2 separate regions of the Homo sapiens genome follow, and region 1 is linked to region 2. The links are contacts of gene promoters, found by promoter capture Hi-C in human tissues and cell types (Jung and others, 2019). All regions are on one chromosome and are shown on one strand. Each heading gives the region's core, a stretch centred on a gene start or on the middle of the fragment in contact. The rest is flanking DNA. Distances are from core to core; before and after follow the strand shown. Region 1 has its middle 180 kb from the start of ADRA2C. Region 2 holds the start of RGS12 (regulator of G protein signaling 12).

Region 1 (2,700 bases), core at 188-2,687, 650 kb before region 2:
TGTCCTGTCCCCAAACACCGCCATCCTCAAACACATGTGCTCTGTTTCCAGGCCAGGCCAGGATCAGATGGGAAGTGGAAGCTTGTCATGACCAGAAACTGTTTCCCTACAAAGAGCACTTGGAGATGGCAATGCTGAACCTAATACTGTAGGACTCACACGCGACTTCAACGGGATTGTGAGGATCAAGTCACTCTCATGGGAAGAATTTTTACATGGGAAAGCGGATAAAACTTTCATTGGACTGGAATGTTTGGAGAATATTAATTTCCAAATCAGGAACCACAAACTGCCCTCTAATAAGACATCGGCTATCTAAGCGTGTGGGTGCCCCCTTTCTGCCAGCAGTTCTGGTTCTTAAGAAAATCACCATAAATCAGACATGAAAATTCTGGCTCTAAAAATAGCATTTTCTTTGTGCAAATAAAAACGTGTGTATCAAGTATGATGTTCCCCCAACGTGGACACACCCGGTTCCTCACAAAGCCAAGCCCGCTGCAGCTGCCACATCCCTGGGCTTACTGTGCAGCAGGTGCTTTTTTCAAGACAGGAATCAAAATATTAGGAACACGGCAGAAAGGCGACACCTGGAGACCAAACGCAGGATGAGGAGTACTGCAGAGGTCACAGGGAAGTCACAGAACAGTAGTACGCTAGCAGGGGCATGGGGCGTGAAGAACAGAAGAAGAGAGGAAGTGTTTCCAAGCCTCCAAAAAAGAAATCAGAGCCAACCACAGCTTCCCGGGTCACAGAAGCAATTCACTCACCAGGCGGCACCACTGCCGTCATTTCAGCTTCTGGCCACTGGGAGGCGCTGCTTGAAAGGGTTTGCCCTGAGACTCCAAGAAGAAGCTGCGGGAAGGACAGCAGGGGCCCTGGGGTTTTAGCCTCTGGCCCAGGAGTTATGTGTCCATAACCAAAGGGAGCACAGTCTGCACCCAGCTCTCATCCCATCGGAGCTGCTGCGACTCCCGCAGGTTCTTCCGGAACAGGTTTAGCTTGCCTGCAGGATCAGGAAAGTTTGAGAAAAGCATCTGCATAATACTAAAGAGCAGAGCTTACCTCATTGCCTGTCCCCACCGCATCCCAGGTCACCACCTGGCTGACCCCAGGTGCCCGACCCAACAACAACCCCTACCAAGTTCTTAACTCCCTCACTTGGACTCGAGACTCTTCACGCCCCAGCAGCGCTCCGCCTCCAACTTGACATCACGCTTTCTGGGAACTTCCCCGCATGTCCCACTTTCCCACACTTGGTGTCCTGGGGCACCTCCCGGCCTCTTCATGCTGTATGCTCCCCTGCGAGCACCCTCCTCTTGGCCTCTGGCCAAGTCCCACCCATCTGTGGGTAACAAGGGGGTGTCGGTGTTCTTTTCAGCCTTGCTAAACTGTCTGAATCAAGGATCACAAACTACAGCCTGCAGGCCAAATCCAGCCCACAGCCTGTGTTTGTAAATAAAGATTTATTGGAACAAAGCCACACCCCTTAATCTACAGATGATCTGTGGCTACTTTCACACCCCAACAGAGTACCATGGTTCTGACAGAGACTAGGGGACCCAGTCTAAATGACTTCCGACTTGGACCTTTACTGAAAATCCTGCCAGTCATTCTGTTGGCAAGAACGATGTATTACTTTTTGCAATAAGAAACAAGTAACATTTGCAGAATTCCACCCATCTTTCAAGGCTGGTCCCAGAAGCTCCCTTTGCCCACTCACCTACCTGATCCTGCTCACTTCCTAAACTGCAGCCCGGCCCACCCGGCTCCAGCGTCATTTGTGGAGTGTCTGTTCCATAAATCCAGCGGGCAGGCGGGCAGGTGGGGTTGTGTCCTAACTTTCCCGAGCCTACTGTACCGAAACGGGACAGCAGAGTAGGCCAGCCTCTGTGACCTCTGCTCCCTCCCTAGCTTTTCCGCCAGACCCCACATGGTCCCACCCCGACTGTGGGAAGCAGGGATCAGGGAGCGTGGCTCGGTGCCAGTCTCCAGAACCCTGCCCACCCTGGCTTAGTGGCAGATGTGGCTACCTGCAGCTGAGCTGCCAGTTCCTCTGAGTCCTCAAAGACCAAGCCGTTTTCTTGATGTTTCACCAGCTCATGTAAACTGCAGAGAGAACCAAGGGAGCCTGAGAGCTGCCTGGAGAAGACACCAGACCCCTGGGGTGCCCACCTGGGCTCCCCTCGCACCCCACGCTCAAGCCAGGCTGGGGATTGGAACAGGGGGTGTGGTTTCTGGGAGCTGGTTCTTAGATTTGGCATCTGAAGGGTATAAAGGCCTGGGGGAGTGCACATCAAAATGGCCAAACCGATTTGAGGAGGGAGCCTTAAGGAGGGTTTGTACCTTCTGTGCTGGATGCTCTTCAAGGACTGAAGAATTATTTTTGTATGTTTTTCTTAATTCCATGGCTGTGGAACAAGTAAGGCAACCCCCTGGAGACTGGTTCAGCACATAAAAGATGACTTTTCTAGGGCACCAGATTTGATCAAGACGTTCCCTGAGCTCAGCTCACACGAGGGGCTTGAATCCCTGAATCCCATCCAGGAGCCGGCTCCTGAGCAGGGGCCAAGGGCTCAACTTGTGCTGGGGCTACTGCTTCTAGAATCTCCTCTAACGCCACCCTTCCAAACACCCATCTATGCTGGGTGCAGTGAGGCCACAGCATGACACTCATTTAACTCATTCAAACCCACCATGTGA
Region 2 (2,700 bases), core at 27-2,526:
ATGGTGGGGCTGCTGCCTTGCCTGGGAAGGCCCCCCAGCGCCCCTTCTGTGCAGGCCTTGCCGGCCATCCTGCACGTCCCTGTGGCCTCAGAAGGGCCCTGCACAGGACGGCATGGACCACGCTGAGGACTTCAGACAAAGACACTCTTAGCCCTTGCAGCAGCTCCAAAGACAGGTCCAATGAGGAAACTCAGGCACAGAGAAGGTGGTCACCTGCCCAGGGACACATTCCCAGCAAGTGACCAAGCAGGTGAGAGGCCAGGTGGTCCTCTCTGTCCACACTCCACGGCTCTGGGCCCCCTCTGTGTTCACCCTCCACTGTCTACACTCCATGGCTCTGGGCCCCTTCTCTGTCTGCACGGCTATGAGACTCTGTCTACACTCCACAGCTATGGGTCCCCTCTCTGTCTACACTAGATGGCTCTGGGCCCTCTCTCTGTCTACACTCCACGGCTCTGGGCCCCCTCTCGGTCTACACTCCACGGCTCTGGGCCCCCTCTCTGTCCACACTCCACAGCTCTGGGCCCCCTCTCTGTCTACACTCCACTGTTTATACTCCATGGCTCTGGGCGCCCTTTCTGTCTACACTCCACAGCTCTGGGTCCCCTCTCTGTCCCCATTCCACAGCTTTGGGCCCCTCTCTGTCTACACCGCACGGCTCTGGGACCCCTCTGTCTACACTGCACAATCGCGGCACCGCGGCTGAGGCGACCCCAGGTCGCTGCAGTGCGTCTGGAGTTCGGGTCTCGGAAGGCAGCTTCTGCCCTAACAAAGCGGCCGCTCGTGGAGTCCGACGAGGGAACCCTCCCAGCGCTCCCGGGCGCATCTCGCCCGCGGGACCCCCTGCCCGGCGCCGCCCCCGCGGGTCCCGCCAAGGGCCCGGGCGGGCCTCACAGCGCGGGGCCCCAGGAGGCCGCGCACCCGCCCGGCCGGAGGCCCCACAGGCCCGCGCCCCGCGCCGCCCGCCCCCGCCCCCGCCCCGCCCCGCCCCGCGCCGGGCCCGGGACCAGGAGCCTGAGTCAGGCCGGCGAACAAAAGGCAGGGCGGGCGGGCGGCGACCCCGAGGGGACGGGCGCCGCGCAGGGCTGGCCGGGATCGGCCGGGAGGCGGAGGGCGCGGGCGCGCGCCCCGGAGACGAAAGAAAGAGCGGAGGCGGCGCGCCCTGCCCCCGCCCCGGCCCCGGCCCCGCACACCTACCGGGCCGCGCCGCTCGCTCCCGCTCCGGGCGCTTCGGCCCGCGCCACCGCCCGCGCGCGCAACGGTCGCCTCGGCAGCCACCGCCCCCCGGGGTCGAGGCGAGGGCGGGGCCGAGGCCGGAGGAGGGGCGGGGACGGAGAGGGGCGGGGCGAACCTGGTGAGGCGGGGCCAAGGGGGTGGGGTTGGGGCGGGGCGATGCGGGGGCGGGGCACGGGGCGGGGCGAGGGCCTTCGCGTCGGGACAGCGTGGTAACGGGACTGCCAGGGAAGCAGGGATGAGAAGAAGCGAGGGACGGGGCCTCCACGGCCGGGGGCGGGACTTCCGTTGGGGGCGCGGCGGCGCTGGTGCGCACGGTGTGTACCCGCACTGGCCCGGCCCTGGTGCTGGGAGCGACTGCGTTCCCGCAAGCTGGTTTTCTCTGCCTCCGCTGGCCCGGGACACCCTGCGAAGGGCAGGTCGGTGTGGCCGGGAGGAGCCGCCCCTGCCTGGGCTGTCTCTGTCCTTCGCCGTCGGTGTCCGAGGAAGTCCCGCTCCCGTTGGGTCTCTGTGCCCGGGAAACCTGGCTGTGGGGAGTCAGGCCCCGGCGCCCTGGCTTTTCGGCTGGGCAGATGCCCGGAGCTGGCGGCAGCTTCGGGGGCGGCGTGAGTTCCCGCGGCGAAGCCACGGGGACAGCCAGGAAAGGCCGTTCCCTCCGGGCCCCGGGACGCCCGCGAAGGCGGCGCGGTGACTGCGGCGTCCAGCGGGTCTGCCCCTCCCGGAGCGCGGGCAGCAGCGAGGGCGGGACCGGAGGCACCGCTGGCACGAGAGGAGGAGCTGCCCGGCCCCGGCCTGCGCCTCTGGCCCTGTCCCAGCCGCCGCCTTCACCCTTTAGGCCGGAGTTCCTTCCTCGCCCTCTTCGTGTCTTCCTTCCCCGGCGCTGGGTCTCCCTGCCCCTTCCTTCCTGCCTTCCCCTCATTCTCTCCCGCCGCGTTTTTCCCTCGAGACGCATCCGTCGCTGCTGTTCACGCTCCAGCCCTGCCGCCCGCCCAGGGACTCGGCCCCTCTCGGGTTTGCTTCTTTCCTGTCACCTGCCTTGATGGGCTCAAAACGCTTCCCCTCCGTCCCCGCCACCGCCCCATGGTTTCTTGGCAGCTCTCCATCATCTAGTCTTGTGTGATTAGTTTGGATCCCAGGAGGAAACCAATGGCATTCTCAGTGGGACAATTAATTAAGAGTCCAGCAGGGTTCCCGCTGGCAGAGGCGCGGTCCGGGAGCCGGGAAGCCACAGGGCGGTGCTGAATTGGGACAGGTAACAGCAGGGAGGGAACTGTTTTCACCTGCAGGGCTGAAGGAGCGCGGCCAGAGCGGTTACAGGAAGCCAGACAAAGAGAGAGAGATACTTAACAGGAGCTGCGACCTATGGCCAAGGGACACAGCCAGCCCTTGATGACCCAGCAGAGAGAGCCAGGGAAGAGGCCAGGCGCGGTGACTCGTGCCAGTAATCCCAGCACTTTGAGAGGCTGA

Evidence for each region. The method cuts DNA at HindIII sites, captures the fragments that hold promoters and counts their contacts. A contact is called where the count stands out against the background at its distance.
Region 1: a contact is called between a fragment that was not itself captured here and the fragment with the promoter of RGS12 in region 2, in 2 of the 25 tissues and cell types used here (dorsolateral prefrontal cortex and lymphoblastoid cells).

What each region holds. Positions count from the first base shown.
Region 1 is chr4:3,940,724-3,943,423 of GRCh38, reverse strand. It overlaps the pseudogene ALG1L7P and the pseudogene FAM86EP. Among named protein-coding and RNA genes, the nearest start is that of ADRA2C, 180 kb to the right of the region's middle. The HindIII fragment of the contact is 3,071 bases long and covers 1-2,700 here.
Region 2 is chr4:3,291,597-3,294,296 of GRCh38, reverse strand. RGS12 (regulator of G protein signaling 12) reads right to left here and starts at 1,276. Exons shown (of 18, transcript NM_001394154.1): 1 at 1,198-1,276. RefSeq lists an enhancer at 1-487 and silencers at 1,141-1,190, 1,201-1,680, 1,861-1,970. The HindIII fragment of the contact is 22,100 bases long and covers 1-2,700 here.